Regions from separate parts of the Homo sapiens genome. Here regions 2, 3, 4, 5 and 6 are each linked to region 1. The links are contacts of gene promoters, found by promoter capture Hi-C in blood cells and fetal thymus (Javierre and others, 2016). All regions are on one chromosome and are shown on one strand. Each heading gives the region's core, a stretch centred on a gene start or on the middle of the fragment in contact. The rest is flanking DNA. Distances are from core to core; before and after follow the strand shown. Region 1 holds the start of HOXB9 (homeobox B9). Region 2 overlaps SKAP1 (src kinase associated phosphoprotein 1). Region 3 overlaps SKAP1 (src kinase associated phosphoprotein 1). Region 4 overlaps SKAP1 (src kinase associated phosphoprotein 1). Region 5 overlaps SKAP1 (src kinase associated phosphoprotein 1). Region 6 overlaps SKAP1 (src kinase associated phosphoprotein 1).

Evidence for each region. Contacts are between HindIII fragments. The CHiCAGO score rates a contact against its expected background, and 5 or more counts as called.
Region 2: a contact is called between a fragment that was not itself captured here and the fragment with the promoter of HOXB9 in region 1, in 9 of 17 cell types (M2 macrophages, erythroblasts, megakaryocytes and 6 more). The highest score is 9.0, in M2 macrophages.
Region 3: a fragment that was not itself captured here is called in contact with the fragment with the promoter of HOXB9 in region 1 in 2 of 17 cell types (megakaryocytes and M2 macrophages); the score reaches 5.8 in megakaryocytes.
Region 4: a fragment that was not itself captured here is called in contact with the fragment with the promoter of HOXB9 in region 1 in 9 of 17 cell types (endothelial precursors, megakaryocytes, M2 macrophages and 6 more); the score reaches 12.0 in endothelial precursors.
Region 5: a contact is called between a fragment that was not itself captured here and the fragment with the promoter of HOXB9 in region 1, in 3 of 17 cell types (megakaryocytes, erythroblasts and endothelial precursors). The highest score is 7.1, in megakaryocytes.
Region 6: a fragment that was not itself captured here is called in contact with the fragment with the promoter of HOXB9 in region 1 in 13 of 17 cell types (endothelial precursors, M1 macrophages, M2 macrophages and 10 more); the score reaches 17.2 in endothelial precursors.

Annotation. Positions count from the first base shown.
Region 1 is chr17:48,623,957-48,627,625 of GRCh38, forward strand. HOXB9 (homeobox B9) reads right to left here and starts at 2,402. Exons shown (of 2, transcript NM_024017.5): 1 at 1,797-2,402. The coding sequence starts at 2,313. RefSeq lists an enhancer at 1,255-1,932 and a silencer at 3,343-3,498. The HindIII fragment of the contact is 5,521 bases long and covers 1-3,669 here.
Region 2 is chr17:48,282,737-48,286,446 of GRCh38, forward strand. The region is part of intron 4 of SKAP1 (src kinase associated phosphoprotein 1); the gene reads right to left. Among named protein-coding and RNA genes, the nearest start is that of SKAP1-AS2, 9.8 kb to the right of the region's middle. The HindIII fragment of the contact is 2,076 bases long and covers 440-2,515 here.
Region 3 is chr17:48,230,922-48,234,787 of GRCh38, forward strand. The region is part of intron 4 of SKAP1 (src kinase associated phosphoprotein 1); the gene reads right to left. Among named protein-coding and RNA genes, the nearest start is that of SKAP1-AS2, 61 kb to the right of the region's middle. The HindIII fragment of the contact is 3,731 bases long and covers 1-3,141 here.
Region 4 is chr17:48,171,881-48,175,932 of GRCh38, forward strand. All of the region lies in intron 9 of SKAP1 (src kinase associated phosphoprotein 1), which reads right to left. Among named protein-coding and RNA genes, the nearest start is that of MIR1203, 17 kb to the left of the region's middle. The HindIII fragment of the contact is 1,446 bases long and covers 1,949-3,394 here.
Region 5 is chr17:48,246,448-48,250,694 of GRCh38, forward strand. All of the region lies in intron 4 of SKAP1 (src kinase associated phosphoprotein 1), which reads right to left. Among named protein-coding and RNA genes, the nearest start is that of SKAP1-AS2, 46 kb to the right of the region's middle. The HindIII fragment of the contact is 3,470 bases long and covers 46-3,515 here.
Region 6 is chr17:48,191,196-48,195,185 of GRCh38, forward strand. The region is part of intron 4 of SKAP1 (src kinase associated phosphoprotein 1); the gene reads right to left. Among named protein-coding and RNA genes, the nearest start is that of MIR1203, 37 kb to the left of the region's middle. RefSeq lists an enhancer at 974-1,591. The HindIII fragment of the contact is 2,282 bases long and covers 462-2,743 here.

The DNA of each region.
Region 1 (3,669 bases), core at 1,152-3,651:
TCCCAAGGTGGGGAGCCAGGGGTGATGTGGAGGTAAAAGGAAGCCCTTCACAGCACACCTAGCCTTAATTGATCCTATGTGGGGGCTGGAGGGGAGAAGAGGGTAACCGAGTGGAAGAGAGGAAACAAAAATATATACAGGCTTCTCTTCTTACCTTCTCTCCCCCTACTCTGGAACTCAAAAAAGTTGCCAAATAAAGCTAAGCCAATTAAAAATAACAGCCACCAGCTACTAGCTTCCTTCTCCCCAAGTGAAAAACACTGGATTTTTTTATATAAAAAATTTGGTTCATCCTACACTAAGTACCGTGTCTTACCAATTTGCAGCGCTATTTCCTTAATGTGATTGCCTGGGATGGGACCCGCAGCCGCATTAAATATGAAAGAGGGAAAAAACTGTTAATAATTGATCCTAGCCAAATGGCTGCCTTGCCATAATGGGCTTTTCAGGCAGAATTTGGGGGTTTAGGGTGGGGGATCTGTTTGGGAGTGTGCGGGGAGGGTTGGGGAAGAATGTGTTCCCTAAATGCCAGCTCTTAGGATTCCACCTGGCAGGTTGGAGGTGACAGGACCCTGCAAGGAATGGGGCTGCTCTTTACTCTCCAGCAGGCAAGGATGCTCTAAAGGGCCCTGGGGCCACTCCGTCAATGGGAAATCTAGCAGGGCAAGGAGAGACTAAAACATCCCTACTTCCCAAAAAGAGTAAGAAACGAGGACCTGATCCACCAGCCTGCGAGTCATTGTTTGAGGCTGAGTTCCCTCACCGATGAGCCCTTCTCAACCTTAAAAATAAATAATAGGAGAACCCTCTCTTCTCATCTAGTAGCACCTCCTGAAAATCAGCCAGACTTGGCGTTCTGGCCGGGGTGCTTTTGAGGAGTGGGAGGTGACGGGAAACTACCCACAAAGGGTAAAGTTCTCCGCCTCTCTGCAACTCTCTCTTCCCCCCACCCCTCCTCTCCCCGGGGTCCCTTCGAGATGCCCCGATATTCGGAAGCGATTCCCCGACTCCCCAAGAGGCGGACAGCCCGGGCTGGGGCTCGGGAGCCCCGCAGAGAGCAGCGGGGGACCGCAGAAAAGGAAGCGGTAGCCCCTGCGAGGACGCCGAGGAGGAGAGGGGCCACCGGAGGGAAGGCTCCCGGGGAGGGGCCGGCGCATCCGGGGAGGGGGCTCAGTCACCGCGTCCTGGGCTTCCCCCGCCCCTCCTGTCGCCGGTTGCGGACTCTGCGCGGCTACAGCGCGAGATCTGCTAGGAACAATCCTCCGCCAAGCTGTTGCATCGCAAATAAAATCCTAATGAGCTCCCTCCCCCTTCCCCTTGGCCGGCTTTTACGGTCTGCGCGTGGCGCGGGGAGCTCTGCCAGCCGCACGGCCCCGGGCAGCCCAGTGCGCTCCGGCCCTTGCCCTCGCCGGCTCTCGGCCTCGCTGGCCGCTGGCCCCGGCCCCCGCCAGCTCCTCTCCCGGCCGTCGCCGGTCTCTGGCCGGGCTTTCAGCTGGGGCCTCCGGGAGAGAGGGGGAAAGAGGGCCGAGAGAGCTGCAAGTCGATCCCCGAGCCCCTGTTCCCCGCAGGACTTGGAGAAGTGGGGGCAGCGCTCCTCTGGCGGCCTCAGTCTCCCCTTCTAGAGCACGCAGCTTTCCCCTTCCCTCCGTCTTTCCTTCCTCTCCCCTCCTCCTCCCGGCCCGCTCTCCGGCCACCGCCGCAGTTTCCCTTCACATTGTCCGCAGTTTATTGCCTTTCCCCTCCCCGCCCCCCTCCTGGCCTTCGGCCTGGGTATTTCCTCACTTTTTATAACTTACTTTGATCCGGCCTCTCTTTGTCCTCGCTTCCTTCGCAAATTTTATTGTCCCCGTAGCCGGGTCTTTGATTAGACAGCACGGCCTCCCTGCCCGCCGAAGTTTCCAAACTGTACTCGGGCGTGCCCTGTTTGAGCAGCTCCCCAGGCGCGCCCAGCAGCGGCTCCGCCTTCACCGCCGCCTGGCCCTGCCCCGGGGCCGCTTCGCCGCGCGGCGCCGGCTCCAGCCAGGTGCGGAGGTACCTGCTCTCGGCCGGCGGGACGCCCTGGGGCTGGATGTAAGGGTGGTAGACGGACGGCAGGCTCCCGGACGCGTGCGGGCTCAGCGGCGCCCAGGAGGCGCCGAACACCGGCGCTTTGGGCTGGAAGCTGCACGAGGGGAACTCCAGGTGCTCCGCGTGGCCCGGCTGCCGCGAGCTCGCGTACTGGCCAGAAGGAAACTTGGCTGGAGGCGCGTCCTCACTCTCGTGACTTATGATCGAGTCGACATAATAGCTGCTAAGCGTCCCAGAAATGGACATTCTCAGACATTATCCGGGCGCTTGCAGGGGGAAGGGAAGCGCTCGCGCGGCGGCGCCCAAGCAGGGAGAGGTGGCACCCGGACCGGTGTGAGGGCTTTCGGACGCGACCCCCCCAGCCCCCCACCCTCCCACCCCCACCCCCTGCTCAACTTCTCAGCCAACAAAGTACAGTGGAGCAGCCCGTCTCAGCTCTCCTTGCAAAATGATTGGTCAAAGTTTTTCCGACTGCCTGATAAAGCGTCAGCTCCGACATAAATCAATCGGGCGAGGGGGCTGCGCTCTCGCTGTCATCCGTCCGCACCGCACTCCATATCGAGGATGGATTGTTTTATGCTGATGCAATGTGCTATCACGTCAGGGCTCCGGCGGCCACGTAACCTCAGCCCCAGCTACCGGCCGCCCGGTCCCCCCCTCCCGCTGCAGGAAGGGGGGCAGTTCTCAACATGGGGCGGCGGGGGCGGAGGAGAGGCGGAGGGAAGCGGCGGGCTGCCTTGGGAGGGACGCAGGCTGTAGAGCCCTCTCCCCAGGCGGGTCGGGGAGGGAGGGAGAGCAAGGGCGGAGGGAGGGAGAGAGCCCCAGCCCGGGGAGAAGCCATAGAGGCCCGAGAGGATACTGGAAGAGGAGGTGCTCCTGTCCCCCCACACACACCTCCACCCCGCAGGCCCTCATTTCCTCTTCTCTTTCCCCTTGACAAAAGATGTTTATTAAACAACAACAGCAGCAGCAATCCACAGGAGATGAAGTAAAATGATGAGGGGAAAAGTTGGGGATTTTAGGACGTTGTCCGCTTTGGAGGGGGCTCTCCTTGCACTCTTTGTAGAGATTTACATGACTGCGAGCTTCCCTGGGCCCCTCAGTAGCTGAGGGAGGAGGAGAGAGGTGAATAAAACGACTGAGTGTCCAAGAATCCACTATCTGTCCTGAAATTAGAAACTACTTGAGGTTAAAGGGATCCATCAGGTCCCGGAAACGTGAGCCTAGGAAAGAGTTTAATACAAGGAACCAGAGCGCCTTTACATTTATTGGGCCTTTCTCTGACTCTGGCCAGAAGGATGGATTTAAGATGGTGGTGGTGACGTGGGGGGTGGGGGTGAGGGAAGCCATTTCTCCTTTTCTCCACTGAATAACCACCCAGGCCCCTAAATTTGCCCTGATGAGGGAGCTAAATAGGAGAAAGGGTTAAGGCCACTTTCCTGAGGTGTGACCAGAGCAGAGGCCTGGGAAAGGATCCCCAGTCAGCAAGGGAAGGGGTCCCAAGTTATCTCCCCTTCCATCCAAAGAGGAAGGAGCCTGGGCTGAGTTTTCAGCCCTCCTGTACTACTCCTCTCACCTGAGGCTCCTGCTCTGGAGATTTCC
Region 2 (3,710 bases), core at 228-2,727, 340 kb before region 1:
GCACTGCTGCTGCCTCAGTGACAGAGCAAGATCTGGTCTCAAAAAAAAAAGAAAGAAAAGAAAAAAAGAAACTGCCCTTTTTTTTTGGTAAGGAAAATTGCACATTTTTGTGCTCCTCTGATAAATGCAAACCCACCCATCTGAGGGAACAATAACTACAAAATGCCATCCACTCTTAGCAATTATGTAATTCCATGTAATTATTTTCTCAGTTTGGCTAAAAAAAGCAAGTACTTTGAGATCTCTAAAATAGTCACAAACTAGTGCATTTTCTAGTTAAGAAGATGTTTGGGAGAGTCAAACTCTTATTTCAGAGACAGAATATAATTTAATAATTACCTGAATACAGAAACACCAATGAAGTTGTGGCTTAGACGTGTTGGGCATTTGTAAAATATAGGTAATATCAAGAGACTCCTGCTGTGAGTCAAGACAAACAAGCTTCCCCCTGCCACCCAGCATAACTGATGAGAGAATGCAGAGAAAAGTGATTAGAGTAGACTATGATACAGAGCTGGAGAAAGTTTCCTAAGGGAAGACATGTTTAAAGTTGTATCTAAAATTCAGATGTAATAAGAAAAATAAAATAATAATAAAATTTAGATGCATATATCATTAAGGCAGCATAGCATAGTGCTTAAAGCCAGGATAAACTCTGGAATCAGACTGCATGGGTTCAAATCACAGTTCAACTTCCTCTTGGTCTGTGACCTGGGGCAAGTTATTTAACCCTTTCAGACTCTGACTCTAGGTGCTTATAATAACCTCTGCCATCTATGGATGCATCAGCCTTGGTCCAATCAACCATACAGCAGAGATCATATGTCTGTTGACTTGGCTGACTGGCTATATTTCACTCTAACTATAATCTAGCAGCAGGCAGGGGGCAGGATCTCACTAACTCTTGAAGATCTTAGTGGTGGTGGATAGATTCCTCTTCTGAAGTGAGCGACGGCTGGATACAAGCTGCTGCTCCATTCTGTTTCCCTCTGGGTGGGAAATAACTTAGGAATAAGGAGGACAATGTGCTCTCAGTCTGCCTAACTGGCCCTTCTGTCTGGGCATCTTGTACCTAGCTAGTTCCCCAGGGCAGAAGTGGGACTCTAGCCAGCCTCCTCTTCTGAGATCAGACTGTACTTCCCTCCCTGATTAATGTCCCAGACTCTCACCTGTCATTCTTGGAACACCATGATTACTCAGTTTATTTCAATGCCATTCTCTGTCTACTCCTCTTAGAATGCCTGGGATGTAACTTTGAAATTGTTTGCCCAGCCTAAACTCAGCTCACAGGTAAAGGAGCTGCTCCCTCCCTTTCATATTGCTAAGATTTCCTTTATCTCTCCACTTGCTTCCCCCTCCTTCCTGCTAAATCCCACACAGTCCCTTCTCCTAGTAAGAGCTGCCAACTTGTTGACTGGCCAATTCAACTCCATTTATGGCAAACATTTGTAGTTGTTCTGATTTTAATGGGGCTACCCTTTATAATAATGTTTTTAAAAAGTAGGTCACGAATAGAACCAATAAAGATAAGAAATAATTTCTGGAGGCCAATTTCTCTTAAGACATTCTATATCAAATAAAAACTTTATGGTGGGTTTGAAACACTGAAACAGACCACTCATGAGTAGTTATTAGAACATGGAGGAAAAACTGTTTGCCATTTTAGCATAGGTAATTTACAAAATGTCATTCTTTTCAATGTACTCAGAGGCACATGGGCCTATGGTGGGTTCTGCCAATTTCAAAGGTGATGATCTATGAAGGAGATTTGGATATGAGTACACAGGTGACTTCTATGTTCAGACATACTCTGTCATCATGTTCAAAAACAGCTTCCAAAAAGCACAGTTGGCATGTTGTGAGAAAAAATACACTTATATTCAATATATCCCTTTTTTATAAGTAACGCAGGGATCTATACATCTTTGACAATTTTGCTCTCACCTTAACTAGAGAACATATCTATGTCAACTAGCATATATTTTAGCAGTTGTAGAAGGTTGGAAATCTTAAAGGAAACCAGACTTTAGCCAAGTCTGGGAGGACCTGCCTTTCAGGGGCTGCTAAAGAATTGGTGGAGACATACATGGTAAGACTGAAAGCATTTGGATTTTCTTCACAATTCAACACAATTCTCCTATAGTAGTCATTAAACTCTGATCAGGTTACCAGATTGGTAGTTTTCAGCACACTGAAATTCTTAGTTGCTGAGATTTATGAAAGCCATATTGAAAGACATTGAGGTATGGATTTGCCTATAGAGCAATTATTAATATATGGAGATTTCTCTTATAGTAGGCCTGAGTCCTCTTCTGACGCACAGAGAGGGCCATGTTTTATGATTTTGGTGCATTTACTCTCTAAGCTCTCCAAATCCTCACAGCCATCTCTAAATGTTCTTTTATGGTATTTGCTTTATGGCCAAGATGTTATTAAGTATGAGAAATGAGGCATTTAGCAACATATTTGAATAAGGGAATAAGATGGGAGTGGTGATTCTAGTAAAGGAGCAGAAAGCTTACTTATACCTCCTCTCCTTTATACGATACCACCTCCTCTTTCTGGTCATACTGAGTCTAGAGAGAAAAAGGGAGCCCTGGCCGGGCACTGTGGCTCATGCCTGTAGTCCCAGCACTTTGGGAGGCCAAGGCGGGTGGATCACGAGGTCAGGAGTTGGAGACCAGCCTGACCAACATGGTGAAAACCTGTCTCTACTAAAAATACAAAAATTAGCCGGGCATGATGGCGTGTGCGTGTAATCTCAACTACTCAGGAGGCTGAGGCAGGAAAATCGCTTGAGTCTGGGAGGCGGAGTTTGCAGTGAGCCAAGATCGTGCCACTGCACTCCAGCTTGGGTGACAGAGCAAGACTCCATCTGAAAAAAAAAAAAAAAAGGGGAGCCCCTATGTCAATATTTCCTATGAGCCCTTTTGATCCTCTGACCCTAAACAAATGCTGCATTTTTATCATTCATTTTTTTCTCCACCAGAAATCATAACAGCCATTATGTGCAATTCTGTGGTGAGAAAAGGAGACAGGAATTCTGAATATTGCTCCTTAATCTGTTCCTTGTTTTCTCAGACATTTACTTTTGGAGTCAGATGTATATGAACATTCCTGATTTGCCACAGCTGAGCAGTATGGCTTTAGGAAAGTTACTTAACCTCTCTGATTCTCAAGTGTCCACATTGATGAAATGGGCATGGTAATATCTACTTTACAGAATTACTGTGAGAATTAAAATGAGATATTATATGGAAAACAGCCAGTACAGTGCTTAGCACATAAAGGGCTCTCAATAAATGATTGCAACAGTAATTTCTGATAGCAGTGACTCAGCTTGGGGAAAAGTCTTAAACAGGTTGGGGAGGCTACCTCAAATGCTTGATGAAAGGAGAAAACATAGAAACAAACAAGAAGACAAATGAGGTGTCATTCATTTTACCTTACAGAGAAGATCTGCTGTATAAGACTAAATTTTAGGTGTTTCTGAATGTGGGATTATTGTTAGACCACAGCAGGAAGGCTGTTTCAATCATATAGGGATGCATATAAGAAATGTGAAGCCTGGAATATATAACAAGATTTATTTTTATAACCTTCAGTGAGAGGTATTGTGCAAGTATAAATTATATATTTTCACTTTTGTAATTATACCTAAACCACATACTCCCAGAAGATTTCATTATGTAATTCCTCAAACTTAACTT
Region 3 (3,866 bases), core at 26-2,525, 390 kb before region 1:
CTTTATGATAATGAAATGTATTACATATATTATCTCATGTAATCTGCACAGTTTAGGAGGTAGATGTGATACAGATGATGAAGAAAGAAGGCTGTGGGCATTTAATTCAGGGATAGGTTAAAGGATAGATGCAGGCAGTGTTTACATCTCTCTGTCCCAGTCTGTTTAAACCATAGTATTTTCAAGTTAGTGTACACAGTGGTTTACAAATCAGCTGCATTTGCATCACCTGGGCACCTTAAAGATACCTCTAGAGCCTTGCCCCTGTTTCACCAGATATCAGAATGAATTTCTGGGTCAGGTTATTGGAAATTTACATTTTTAACAGACTCCCTTAAATTATTCTATTATGCTTCCATGTTTGAGAGAGATCTTCACACTAAGGGTCTCTCAGACCAGTAATTATACCATTATTTCAAAAAACAGCTAATAATGTGTAGGGATTATTGCAATAGCTGTTGTAAAAGCATACATGCTTACACAGCCTGAAGAAAGAAGGCTGCTTTTGCAGAAAGCAAAAGCAAATTAACTTAACAACTGGCATAGTTTGAGGAAGGGTACTACACAAGTAGAAGGGTACTAAATACTCTATGTAGTTGAGAGGGTTTCAGAAAATGAGTTAATAAAAAAAAAAGAAAGCAAGGAATTTTACGCTGAGACCTTCTAACTGTCCTGAAATATTTGAAGGGTTGTCCCATAGAAATAGGGAGTAGTGGGAGTACTAGGACCCACAAGCTGAAGCTAATGACAGTGGGGGTTAAGTTCAGCCTGAGAAAGACCCTTTAGACCTTAGAGAGCCTCCACCTCCCCAGCCTTTGGGAATAATGGTGGTCATGAGGTAGGAAGCCTCACCTCACTGCAGGGTTAAGCAGGGACTATATAACCTAGTGTTAATAGATTCTTACACTGATGGATAAGTTGGCTTTATCTTCTATAATTCCTATTTTCTCTATACTCTCCTATTCATTCTTCTCAAAATACCTATGTAAAAAAAACAAAGGCACACGTTACTGATACATATTTTATAATCTGAGAAACTGAAGTCAAAAGCTGAGGTGAGTTGCCAAAAGTGAGGCACTTGCTAGCAAAGCTAAGAACAGATCTCTCCTTCCTGGTATTCTTCCTTCTTAACCCCCTTTTCTTCACCCTACAAACCACATAGGTGCCTCTTAGGAAACACTAAAGCACTTAGGAATATAGCCTGAAAACTGCTATTGTAGGCCAGTCACCTTCGAACCTAAAAATGCAAGTTCCTGGGCGTGCCTCAGATTAACTGAATCATAATCTGTGCAAATGGGACTCAGGAATCTGTATGCCAGGTTGGGCACCACCATTTTAGACTTCTTTCCATCTGGAATAAGGGACAGGAAATCTGATAGTCTCGTGTTCTATATACTATTCTTTGTAACTGCTGATTGATTTCTATGAGTGCAAAGATACCACCAGGTGGGTACCTTTTTATGTAAAGATTTCAATGCTCTTGCTTTACATTTACATGGGCACAAATATTTATATAATGATCACAAGTTTATTTACAGAAGTAACAGATGGCTGTAAAGGTGATACAAATGTATTTGAGTCAACGGTAAAGGTTCCATTGTGTATTTTACAGGCCTGGGTAAATGTCAGCCTTTACCCAAATATTGGCAGCATAAAGTATATGGATATGGGAACAGTATGGAGTTAGAAAAAATTCCCTGCCCTTCTCGTAGGCTCTGAGTAAGTATCCCATTGGATTAACCAGAGTCCACTTGATTGCTACAGTTTCAATAGCTTGTTCAGACATCGATTGCTGTCATGTCACTAGGAGAAAAGGATTAATAATAGGGTGCTCAGGCTGGCTCAATACTGCTGATAGTGCCTGACAAAAGACCGTTAGTAGGACTCCCATGGGGACACTGCCTGCATAGGAAAGCTACAAACAACATCATTCAGGATTTCGCAGAATAATGATTAACTACAGAACTTCAGCCTACAAAACCCAACCAACAGTTCTATTATTTCCAAATAAATTCACTGCTTGATCTTCCTTTTCTTAGGTTCACAGATTATCCAGAATCAGAATGTCTAGTGGATATTCATAACCATGATTGTGTTCTTATATAAGTCACTGTGCCTGGACTGTTTTCGAGAGATGCATTTCTGCCAATCCTGATCATGGAAAACAGCAAGATACTAGAGGAGCTTGGTTTGGCAAGTGTCTCCTGAGTAAATTTTACAAAAGAAATGCTCCATCTCCAATAGGAACTCTGTGGCAGTTGTGGCTAATGGGTACCACAATCTGGGGAGGTCACCAGTTCTGGATCTCACATTTGAAAAAACTCAATTTCAGCTATGGAAAATTAAATGGGGCTACTTTGCAATGGGTTTCAATGTTCAGTTGAGATTAAGGTGAAGGAGGGTGTTAAAAGGAAATATTGATGATTCTTTACATCAATAGAAAAGAGAAAGGATGGCAGTGCTAGAATGTGTGGTTTTGTTGAACTGTGTTGTCCCTGTTTGGCAAAGGTTTGGTGATGGAACTAGAAAGAAGGGGACAAATTCTGACTTCTAGTAAAAACAAGAATAGTCTGTAATTTAAACAGATAAAATATAATACTATAAAATTTTACTGTACTAATTGTATAAAATATGGGTAAAATAAGATTACTGGCCAAGTGTGGTGGCTTACACCTGTAATCCCAGCACTTTGGGAGGTCGAGGTGGGTGGATCACGAGGTCAGGAGTTCGAGACCAGCCTGGCCAACATGGTGAAACCCCATCTGTACTAAAAACATACAAAAAATTAGCCGGGCATAGTGGCTCGCACCTGTAATCCCAACTACTAGGGAGGCTGAGGCAGAAGAATTGCTTGAACCCAGGAGGCAGAGGTTGCAATGGGCTGAGATTGTGCCATTGTACTCCAGCCTGGGTGACAGAGCAAGACTGTGTCTTGAGAAAAAAAAAATGTTTACTTAGAGTGGCAGAAATACAAGCCAACAGCTTCTCTCTCTGCATCCCCCATGCTTATATGACAAGAGTTCCAAGTTGTTTGAGTGTTTGGTTTTTTTGGCAGTGAAAGGTTTAAGGGCATTTATCTCTATAACTAGCAATTTAATAAGTACATGACTTCTTACTCAAGTGCATTTAGATAATTTTCTAAGCTTTCATAACAGCTTTATTTATTTATGCTTTAATGCCTTTCCTCTTAAGAGCTCAAGATGCTGGTTATTTAACATTTTATATTCAGATATGAGGATTAAAAAAAGGCACTGGGTGCCATGCTGCTGTCTCCAATGATAGCTCCACTAAAAATAACACAATTAACTTGATGTCAGCCCTCAGCTTGTTCTTAAATATAGGTTTCTTAAAAATATCCAGACTACTTTAATTAGAGTCACAGAATATTTTAATTATTCCTAAAAGACTGAGTATACTCCATTGACTACAATAAAGACATGAGATAGAAAGCAGTTCTCTAGGAACTTATATATGCTAATGATTATGTCACATTAATGGGAATATGGGCAGTTGTTTAGGATGAAATTGGTACAGGGCTAGACATGGACACCTGTGAAGAAAACTGAGGCCATGTGTCATCTGGCATGAGGTAAATGGCATCTGAGCCCCAGATATCATCAGAAATGCAAAATTCTGAAATTCAAGGTAATATGTTGTTCAGTTCAACTTAATTTTAATCAGATGCAATCCAACCCTGGAAACCTTTATTCAGCATCTGTTATATGTCAGGTAATGTTCTGAGATCTGTGGGGGTACCAAAATAAATAAGAAATACATTCTATTTTCAAGGCACTTTTTTTTTTCTGGTAGGAAAGACAGTCAAATAAATAACCACAGAATGTGATGAGTAAAAAGCAAAATTACAA
Region 4 (4,052 bases), core at 1,422-3,921, 450 kb before region 1:
TGAAACCCCGTCTGTGCTAAAAATACAAAAATCAGCTGGGCCTGTGGCGGGCGCCTGTAACCCCGGCTACTCAGGAGGCTGAGGCAAGAGAATTGCTTGAATCCAGGAGGCAGAGGTTGCAGTGAGCCGAGATTGTGCCACTGCACTCCAGCCTGGGTGACAGAGCAAGACTCTGTCCTGGGGAAAAAACAAAAAACAAAAAACCCTCTTTGATTAATTAGTCCTTAATCCTTAATGTATCCATCTTTGTTCAGCTGTAATGGAGGCTGGTCATGTACATAATTTTATGTTCCTAGTACTTGGGGCTTGTAGTTATCTTTTTACTGTTTTTATTCAGCATGTCTTGTTCATTAGAGTATAAGCTCCTGAGGGTAGCTGGAATGGTCTTTTAATTAATTGCCGTAGATTCACAATGGGTTCTAACTCAATGCCAGTGTCTAACTCCAGTCAAATGTTTATACGGTCAAAGTCATAACATAATTGGCCTAAGTTTCTTACTCCCATTAACCGGTTTCATCTCGTCACATTACCCGATAAAATAGGAATTGGACCCTTATAATGTAAATATGTGTACCAGAATCATATTTAGCTATTTTATACATGGGGCAAAGTGAAGAAAAATACACTCGTTATTCTTTTCACTACCACCATGCTCTTTTCCCACTCTCTCACTCACACATATATACACACATATGCACAGTAGATAGGGTATAGTAAGCAATGTTTTGAGGGCTGAATACTCAGCTCCTCCTGGCCACATTTACTTTCCTTTCTCCTGAGTCTTAATGACATTTGCTTGTCTTGCTTCTCCATAGTTTTGCCACTAAATGAAACTTTGACATTTCTCTTTCTTTTTTTAAATGTAATGTTTATAGGGCAATATGAGTTCCGGTATGCCAAACTGGGGAAGTAAGCTCCAAGCTCATAGGTAAGAAGGAGCAGCATAAAAATATATTAGAATACTATAAAGCATTAAAGGAGTAATTGATTTCAAGTAAGAAAGAGACTGATATGGCCAGGTGTGGTGGCTCATGCCTGTAATCCCAGCACTCTGGTAGGCTGAGATGGGAGGATCACTTGAGCCCAAGAGTTAGACACCAGCATAGACAACAGAGCAAGACCCTGTCTCTATAAAAAATAAAAATAAAAATTAGCTAGGCACAGTGATGCACACCTGTAGTTCCAGCTACTTGGGAGACTGAAGCAAGAGGATTGCCTGAGCCCAAGAGTTTGAGGCTGCAGTAAGCCATGATTGCGCTACTGCAGTCCAGCCTGGGCCTGGGCAACAGAGCGAGACCTTGTCTCTAAAAAAAAAAAAGGACGGATACTCTGGGAAATAAAATATATATATATATGCCCTACAATATAGTATGGGAAAAGGAGCACTTTGACTCAACAGTTCTTATAGCCATGTATGATCTAGCAGCAGAGAATGTTCTACTTGACACCTGTAGTGCTCCCTCAACCCTACCACGAGGAATAAAACAACCTAAGCTAATGGAGGAGTGAAATCAAATATAGGAAACAGATCATGCTGAAATAAACCACATTAAACATTCTTTGCACATTGTCTTCTCGTTACTCGTCCACTTCCTTCCTTTCTCAGCTATGATGCATTTCTTTTTTGACATGGGACTAATTTTAGGATTGGAAACATTAGAGGAAAAGTTGGTACAACCTCAGTTTTAGAGATACCCAATAATTTGGACAGAGAGCAGCTCTTTTGTTGATATCAAACAACTCCATCACAAAGACCAATAATTTGCTGTGCTTAGGCACTTTTGCAGAGGTTTATTCTACCTCTGCTGTCTGTGCGCAGCTGTCTCTTCCTCCCAATTCTAATCAATGTAAATTGGGTCAGATCTCCACTGTGAATTACAAATTGGATCCGAAGTTGGAGGGTCACAGTGCTGCTACTCCACCTCCTTCCCACCACCATTAGATGGGAAGCTTCACCAAAGATCTTTTCTAAATAAATCAGACTTTATTGTAAAACTCGGCCACTGACGAGACATAACCTCATTAGCATTGATTTTAAAATAAATTATTGAAAGTGGCTTGCCTGCTCTTTGCATTTGTAAAATAGGAGAATGTAAATGTATTTGCAATGATAAAAATGAAAACTAAAACTTAATTCCTTTATTCTTTTGGGCAACAGCACTTAATCTAGTCATAATACAAAGATGGAACAATAGAAATGTGTTCTATGCAGTTCAGTTCCAGACCAGTTACTCTTGATTTCCACTGCACTTTTGGAATCAACTAGAAAGAAAAAAAAAACATTGGCTATAGAGCTTTTATATCATTCACCGCCATTACTAAGCTCTACGATGATGGATGTAAACGGGGAAGCTCCAATCCCCACATCTGTTTTATCTAACACCGTCCTTCCCAGGTGGCTGAAAGTAGGCTCAAATCAAGAAGCCTTCCCATTGATGGGCTTGGCGCTATGCCTCTGGGGTCTTTGGAAGACTGGGTAGGGGGCACTGTCACATAGTGAAGGAAAACACCATTCACAGCTGGTTGTGAAAATTACACCCCTAGACACCTCCCTAGGTTCAGAGGGCACAATACAAATAGGCATACAAGTTATCTCAGATCTTTCCATGAAACTGAACAGGTGTCTTTGCAACCCCAGAGTCAAAGACAACTATTATATGGCAACAGAAAAAAAGTCTTGTTGCTCACAAGAAGGGGTGGGTTAAATAGCTAAAGTTCTCATTTTTATTAATCTTTAATGTGACACTTTAATTTTAAGAGACTATTTTGAAAAATATTTTTTAGGCTAAAGAGCTTGTTGAATTTCTTTATAAGAATATTATTAGGCATTTCAGCATTATGTCTACTGAAATACATCTTCATTTAAGAGTGAATTAAAATTTATGTGCTAGCTCAACTTTAAACAGTAATGGATTATAATGGTCCTTGCTCCTAACAGGGCATATGGGACCCCAACCTTACATAGGTTTTAAACAAATTAACCTCTAAAGATTACTGTCCACTTATCACATTAAATGCTCTACTTGATCCCCAAATATCTCATCTCAATTGGGAAAACAGTTGAAGAAGATTCTGTTAACTGTGTGAACATGTAAGAGAACCATGGGGCATCACAAATGAGCATCAGTATCTGGAGAGTCGATTTCAATAAACATTCTTGGCACAATGTCAGGGACACTAATGAGAGGCTGAGAGGAATAGGACACTGAATCCACCTCAGAGGGACAGAGAGGAGCCAGCAGCTTCTCATGACACCTGGCTATTTTCTGAAGTGCTGCTCTGACACTCCTCTGACATTGGCTACACTGATATCAGAAAGAATAACATTAGAAAAAAATGACTAAATCAGAAAGAGGGGAAATCAGTTACTTCCCCAAATAAAGAAAGTGATAAAAGCTTCAAAAAATGCCAACTGTGTAAATGTGCAACCAGATGTCAAGGTGCTGTGGTGACAGATGCAACAGAAATACAGATAGACTCAAGGTGCAAAGGGGACATGCAGAAAAGTAGAAATAAACTGCTCCCCCGCATGCACAGATATGTTATAAATCCACGGATGTATAGCACCTCATCAGACAACATGCAAAATACAAGCAAGATGCTAATAACACATTTAATTCTCTGTTGTGTATTTGGTTATCTCAACTGTTAGCTCAAAATATTCGCATCCTATTTCAGTGATATGGGCTTGATGTATAAGATATTAAACTCAATTTGTGCTAACTGCAACACTTGGAATGCACTGAATTTAACTTCACAAATAATACCTAAGCATCTACTAACTGGGGAGAAAGACCTGAATACAAATCACTGGTGAGGGCTAAAACAAAGCTTAATTCCAGTTGAGTATCTGGGAAGGTGTCACTGAGGAGACATATTTGAGCAGAATGTGTATGATTTCACAGGCTGAGATCAGGGGGATGGTCTAGGTAGAAGAAACAACATGATTCTAGTTTTGGTGCTGGCCAAGCAGCACTGTGTGGCTGGGGCTCAGTGGGCATGGGAGTAAGACAGAGAAAAGGCCAGAAGTTCAGAGGAGGCCTGATGTTGGT
Region 5 (4,247 bases), core at 531-3,030, 380 kb before region 1:
TGTTAAAATCATAGCATAGCAGAGGTTCTCTCATTCAAACCATAAAGCTTTATTTTATTTTTTATTTTTATAGTCATCCTTCAAAGCCTGATTCAAATACGGTTCTTCATGGAGTTCTAGAGCTGGAAGAGCTTTAGAGACTAAATGATCTAATTTCTCCTTTTACTAAGGCATGCAGAGATTAAGTGATCTGCCCAAAGACATCAAGCTACAGCTTGGACCACATTTCAGGTCTCCTAACAGTGCAGAGATCTCTGAGAGTTAATCACCCAATCCTGCTGGTCTTTTTCATCACTCTAATCTAAACTGACTGATCTCCTTGGAGCTGCTATGTACTTACAGTACTTATCACACAGCCTCTTGAATTTCAGTTACTTGGGTGCATAACTTATCTCCCACGTCATCTCTCATGTGCCTTTGACACCTCTGTCTATCCCTGGAATGCTTAGAACAGTCTTAACCAGAAGGCATTTAGTAAATATTTGTTGAATTAATGTATGAATGAATGTTAGAAAGAAGGAAATTAAACAACCTTTCCCATCCCCCTGACTCATACCTCTCGCAGTCTCAAAAGTTCTCTCTAACCCAACTATCTGAATTGAACCATCAATTCTAGTGCACAATAAATAAATACCTCCACATCTGCAGAAAAGTGTCACTATACCTAATACATATACACAAATTCACTTACTTTACAAAAGTCTCTGTGTACTCACTGTGTGCATTTCACTTCCAAGTATGCACACAATTTACCAAAGAAGTAGGAGACCAAACCCTGCCTTCCTATTAGTCACATTCCATTGGGAAGACCTGTATACAGCACAACTAGACATCTATTAACTAAGCACCATGAAAGCATGGACATGATAACGAAGGCAAATAGCTAGAAAAAGGGATTCAGGGAGGCTAAAGAAGTAGTAGTTACAGAGGAAGCTGCCAATACTATGCAGCATATCTTATGCTGTCTCTTTTATGGGGCTGCAATTTGCAAGCTAAGCCCAATACAATTTGTTTCCTTCTATCCAATACTTCTGATTTCTTTTCCTCTATCATTCATTTTCTTTACTCAATGATTTAAAGGTAACCGTCTTTTCCTACCTCACAAAAGTTTTAGTTGCTGACCAAAGTTTGACTAAATATCATTTCACGTGTATTTTTCCAGTTGGAGATAGTAAGTCATAGTAACAATACATACACCACCTTTAATTTTTCAAAGTGTTTATATATATATTTTTTCATCCTTTTTCCCCCAGTAAACTCAGCAGGGAGGTGTCAAGTGCAAACCGCATACTATAGATGCATACTCGATGCATAACAGCTACACTTTAATTTTGCAACACTGTTCTACTTCTTTCCTGGAATCTCTCTTCATGAATTTCCTGGAAAGAGGAAAGCAGAAGAAAGGCATATCTCTATTACAATGACCTGCTTATTTTCTTTATCACACTAATCACAATATGTAATTATTTTATTTATTGGTTTAATTCTTTATTGTCGGTCTCCCCAGTAGAATGTAAAACTCCTCAAGTTTACTCTCCTTAAATGTAAAACTCATCTATCTTATTCTTTCATTGTAGGCACTCAACAAGAAATTTCTGAATCGATGAATGAATGATCAACAACACTATTTCTATTAAGGCAAATAGGTCATGATAAAAGAGGCCAATGAACAGACCTCATAGTGTAGAACTGATTAGCTATATTTTTACCCATTTATTCTTCCAAGGATGGCCTGCGCAGGAACAGGTAGTCTTCTTAGTTTTTACTTTTGCCAATTCTTCACCAAGTAATTATTATTTTCTTTGTATACGGTACTGTATGAAAAACTATAGGGGAGGATGGGCACAGGTGGCTCATGCTTGTAATCCTAGGACTTTGGGAAGCCGAGGCGGTTGGATCATCTGTGATCAGCAGTTCGAGACCAGCCTGGCCAACATGGTGAAACTCAATTTCTACTAAAAATACAAAAAATAGCCGGGCATAGTGGCATGTGCCTGTAATCCCAGCTACTCATGAGGCTGAGGCAGAAGAATCGCGCGAACCCAGGAGGTGGATGTTGCAGTGGGCAGAGATTGCGCCGCTGCACTCCAGCCTGGAAGACAGGGCAAGACTCCGTCTCAAAAAAGAAAACAGAAACAAACAAACAAACAAATTGTAGGGGATAAGAAATTTAAGACATAATCCTTGCCGCCAAGGAGCCTATGTGATTACAGCAATACCATAGTAATATAAGACAGCAAATGACAAATGCAAAAAAAAATTATGCAGTCAACATGTGATATCAATCAACAAAGGGAGAAACTGCCTTAGATTGTGTGATCAGGAAGGGCTCCCTGGGAGTGGTGGTAGTATCTGAGTTCAAGATAAGTTTAATTTCTATCAATGAACAGGGTTTAATAGAGGGCCTTTAAAAAAAAATCATGTTATGTCTTAACATACCCCAAGTTTAGATAAGAACATTTAATTAGGCCGGCGCGGTGGCTCAAGCCAGTAATCCCAGCACTTTGGGAGGCCGAGGCGGGCGGATCACGAGGTCAGGAGATCGAGACCATCCTGGCTAACACGGTGAAACCCCGTCTCTACTAAAAACAAAACAAAAAAACAAAAAAAACCCATTTAATTAAATAATATAAACACTTTGAGATCCTCTAATAGACAATAACTTGTCAATGCAAAATAGTTCTATTAGACTATTCAGGTGGCCTCCAAAGCAAGTTTTTAATGGCTTTATGTATGTTTAATCACACTCAGTTGGTCTAGCTTACTCAGCTTTAGTCCCATTAGAATTTAAAAGGTCAAGTTTCAAAAACCTAAAAAGGTGATTTAGAATAGAAATACCAGCTTAACCTTAGCTACGGCTAAACTAACATTATAATAGTATTGAAAATAGTACCTTATAGAAAATACATGGACAAAAGAAGAATATTAAAACTTTACAATTCTTGGCTGGGCACAGTGCCTCACACCTGTAATTTCAGCACTTTGGGAGCTGAGGTGGGCAGATGGCTTGAGCCTAGGAGTTTGAGACCAGCCTGGGCAACATGATGAAACCCTGTCTCTACCAAAAATACAAAAAATTAGCTGGGCCTGGTGGCGTGTGCCTGTAGTCCTAGCTACTCGGGAGGCTGCGACAGGAGAATCATCTGAACCCCGGAAGTCGAGGCTGCTGTGAACCATGATCATGCCTCGGCACTCCAGGCAGAGCAAGACCTTGTCTTAAAAAAAAAACAAAACCCGGAAGCCCCCCGCAAAAACCACTTCACAATTCTTTCCTAAGGTTATATTTTAAAAGTAGAATTTGAGTAAAATTTAAAATCACAATTGGAATTTTACTAAAAATTATGACTCACTGATAGCTTTTAATGCATATTGCCTATCTGGGAGGGCACAGAGGCCTTATAAGTGAGTGAGAAAGATGTAGACCTAACAGCACTGATAGGGAGCCATCTCTTGAAAATGACACAGATCTGTTACAGCTCAGAAGGGTAAGAGAGGAGTTTAGGAGCATTTTCTAAAGCTTGCTGGTTGGAGCTGTTGCTTTCTGCCTGAAGCATCCTATCCAGTCTCTTACCCTCACTCATGCTGCCATTAAAATATCTCCTGCCTTTTCTCACATACTCATTCCTCAATTTCTTTCCCTAATATTTACATCTCATTTACTGCAATTTCATAATGTTTTATATTAAAATGACTCCAAACTGTTATAATCTATGAGATCTATGTTATAAGCTGTGAGATTATAACAGTTTGGAGTCATTTTAATATAAAACATATTATGAAATTGCAGTAAATGAAAAAATACATATATTTTGCTGCCATAGACAGTTTTTTTTTTTTTTTTTTTTTTTTTTTGAGATGGAGTTTCACTCTGTCGCCCAGGCTGGAGCGCAGTGGCATGATCTCAGTTCACTGCAACCTCTGCCTCCTGGGTTCAAGCAATTCTCCTGTCTCAGCCTCCCTGAGTAGCTGGGATTACAGGCGTGCACCACCGCGCCCAGCTAATTTTTGTATTTTTAGTAGAGATGGGGTTTCACCACATTGGCTAGGCTGGTCTCAAACTCCTGACCTTGTGATCTGCCCGTCTCAGCTTCCCAAAGTGCTGGGATTATAGGCGTCAGCCACCACGCCTGGCCATAGATAGTTTTTTTAAGCTGCCCCTTTCATCAGTCGAAAGGTTAGAAATTAGTCTAAATATGCGATCTTCTCGTTTTTCTAAAAAAAAATAGTGTTTTGGCATTATTTAAAGT
Region 6 (3,990 bases), core at 353-2,852, 430 kb before region 1:
GGACAAAGGATGGAGACAAAGAAGGAATTTACTTCTCAAAAAATAAAATGAAAGAAGAATGAAAAAAAAAGCCTCTTTTAAGGACACACTCCACATTTCTTAATTAGGCAAAATGAAGGTAATTGGGCTAGCGGTATTTTAACATTTATTCTTTTTAGTCCCAGAACTCAAATCTCTTTTGGATTGTCTTAAATAATTTATGAAGCAAACCAAATACAAAACAAAGTAAGGCATAACTACATATGAATCAACTGGGCCACCTATAGAGTATCTTGAGAGTTATGGTTGAAATAACTTTTTTTCAAACAATTGTTTTTTGAACATTTCCTACAATAACATTTATTCAATGGTGGCTATGAGCTGGCACTTTGCTCAGTGCTTTTCCTACTTTTTGTTTTAAAATAACATCTACGACAATTTAAAATGCAATCAAAATTACATTTTGCTTTAAAGCTGTTTCAAGCTTAGTTATAAAAAGGTAGATCAGAAGAGCCTCTTTTTCTGTTTTTAAGTGTGTCTATGTGCCTGATTTTTTATCCAATTGGTCCTTATTGTTAACCTCCTTGTTCATGGACTACTTTTATTTGTGTGTTTCACAGTTAGCAAACTATGTGGTTGCCATAAATCCTTTTAATCAATCTCAGGGTGCACGCATGAGATGAACAGCAGCAAAGGAAAGTTCATTTTTCTAGGGTTCTTTCATTTCTCCTACCCCTCTGAAAACACCCTCCAAGGAAACAGTAGCAGATTCTACTGAGGGTGAGGCATTGAGTGGGGTGAGGACCAGTTACAGAAGAGAAGGCTCTCTGAAGTGCTGTCAAAAAATTGCTCCTGGGGAGGCCAGGTGTGGTGGCACAAACCTGTAGTCCCAGCTACTTGGAGGCTGAGGTAGGAGGATCTCTTGAGTCCAGGAGTTCAAGGCTGCAGTGAGCTGTGATTGAACCACTTCACAACAGCCTGGGGACAGAGCGAGACTCTGCCTCTTAAAAAAAAAAATTGCTCCTGGAGGCCTAAAAATTAAATGAAAGACATAGGGAGATGAGGAAAACACGATCCCATAAGCTGGGAGTTTCCATCTCTTCTTTCCACAGGTTTTTTTTTTCTTTTCTTTTTAAAGGTCTTGTTAAACTTAGAGACACAGCTCCTTGTCAAAGATGCCAAGAGTCTGAATCATAAAAGACATGTTAAACGTTCTATTAGAATTCAAACCTCCTTTTTTTAATGCAAATTTAAATGCCATTTTATGGAACATCTATAATTATGAAAATGGGAAGACATTGCCTCGTGTGCAGGGAGAGTCTGTGAGTATGAATATTACATTAATGTGCCCACACCAGCTCACTGATCCTGCTGGCAGGAGCATAAAAAATGCCTGAGTGAAACTTTTATTTAGATGTTAAGACTCCAGGCCCCAGCGGGGTGACAGAGACAGCCCCTGTGAGTTGCCATCAGAGAGAGAGCTTGAATTGAATTACCCAGGGGGGAGGAAGTAGTGATGAGCACTGCTTCGCTTATTTAATTTCATTTACTTTCAGTACATTATCAGCATGAGGTTTTTCTCTCCCCACCAACTGAAACCCAAGAATGCCACCACTAAGGAAACAAAGACATAATACAGCAGAGATGTAACTCTAAGTCACTAATTCTAGGAGACAAGGGATAGCACCATCACCACCTTCTCTCCCCAAGAGTCAAACTCAGTTTGCTAAAATTGGGTACCAAAGGAGCTGCTGAATTTTTTCTCTTGGTCATTCACTAACAAGATTCTGAAAAGGAATAGAGCTGGAAACAGCTTTTTATATGGTGTGTTTTTGTGTATAGTCAGTAAGATGTGTTATGTTGCTTTCTTTCTTTCTTTTTTTTGAGACAGAGTCTCACTCTTGTCGCCCAGGCTGGAGTGTAATGGTGTGATCTCAGCTCACTGCAACCTCCACCTCCCGGGTTCAAGCGATTCTCCTGCTCCAGCTTCCCAAGTAGCTGGGATTACAGGCATGCACCACCATGCCTGAATAGTTTTTTGTATTTTTAGTAGAGACGGGGTTTCTCCATGTTGGTCAGGCTGGTCTTGAACTCCTGACCCCAGGGGATCCAGCCGCCTCGGCCTCCCAAAGTGCTGGGATTACAGGCATGAGCCACCGCACCCGGTCTATGTTGCTTTCTTATTCATTAGACAGAATCTGTATTGAGGAATTCTCTTGCCTGGTTCCCCTTATGGGCAGTGGGAAAAAATGGGATTATAGGCTCAGTTTAGAATGTCTACGGAAAAAAAATTAGGAAATGAGGTCAGATCAGTCTCTAGTCTACTAACTGTCTTCTGTGTACAAGGTACTGTGTGGTGAGTTCAATAACAGAGTTGTTCTCAATGTAGTTGGCTCTGAGCTCAATCTCATTAGCTCCATGATCTATCTGACAAATCCAAATAACCAAGGTGGGAATCCACAGTGGCATGCAAGGTACCTCCTCTTTCAGTGTCAGCGCAGGGTCCTACTGATCAAGAACTAGTGATCCTGAGGATGAACAGTGTTAGCCATGCCATGGGGTGATGAGGCAGGAATCTTGTATGCCTGGATCCACACCTACTGGTAAACGAACAGATCTGCAGAGAACTACTTAATGCATAATAGAAAGTATGTAAAATATGCTTTAAAGGACGGTTATAAAAATAGGAAGAAGTTGCAAACAATTGTATAAGTTGCTATTTTAAGGCAAACAATTTATATTTAAGTATACAATTAAAAAAAGAAGCTTTTTATTCATTACCTGAGAAAAGATATCACCACCGTCATGAAAAAATAAAAATGATTTTGATTTATTGAGAATAAATGGCCCTCTTGGCTAAGTCTAAAGGTGTATTACATTATATCAGCACAAAACAGAATTACATTAGTGTCATAATCTCTCCCTACCACTACACTTAACTAAACCTCTCAGAACAGCCCGTATAAAGAAAAGATTCACTTAGCTGAAGGATATGGGGCCACAAAGATAAGATCAACAGAGAAGTATGTTACCCAGAAGTGATGGCCACCCAACTTTCATGGCAGATGAAGATAAAAGAAATTCTCAGATATCTTTCTCTTCATCTAGTTTCCTTTAAACCCTTGTATCCCACCCACATCAAAAAAAGCAATAAAAAACGACAGAATAGGATTCCATCTCTCAATGCTAAACATGACTCTTTAGTCAGCTATGCACAGCAACAACAATGGGGACCCTTTGGAGTGTGATACATTTCCATAAAGCAGTCAATAAAAAAGACACGAGAGCTTATGTGAGTCACGGCCTATTTAACCAGCTGCGTTCTAGCCCACTGAGAAAAGAGAATTGGAGAAATCAGTTGGCAACACCAGAGCACAAGGCTAATAGCACAGGAGGCCACACAATTTCCACGCAAAAAGGCTGCAGCCCCTGCAGAACAAACCAGGTGCCCACTAACTTTCATTATAGGCAGCTGGCTTGGTCTCTTGCTAAATCATCCTGAAAGGAAAATAAATAGTTTTTTAAAAAACATCTTTTGTTCAAATCGTCCCCCTGTTAAGTTATGGACTTCTCCCATCCTCCCTCTTCCTTTTAATTCAAGTTCTTTTCAACTGTTTAAAAGAGGGACCTAACCAACTTGAGCCTAGAGACTAATAGCTAACAGGGGTGAATTTCAGACAGGGTGAAGTTTAGCAGGATCCTTCATTAAAGTACTCATGTAAAAAACCTGGGGATTGGGTGTATGAGATTGGAGAAAATTTAACATCTGAAGGCTGGGAATGGTCAAATTCCACCTGCAATTCCAATGCAGTCACAGATGGCTGGTGTGTGTGCATCTGCAGACATAAACACAAACACACGCTTTAAAATGCCTCAAATGTACCAAGGTGAGGAGGGTATTGCAGATAGGTTGGGGAGGGGGTAGTTTTCTCTTGTCTGGTGATTGTGGATTTCAAATCTGTTCATGAACCTCTCTTTTGTGCATTTGATTTCTGTGGCCTTCTTTAATAT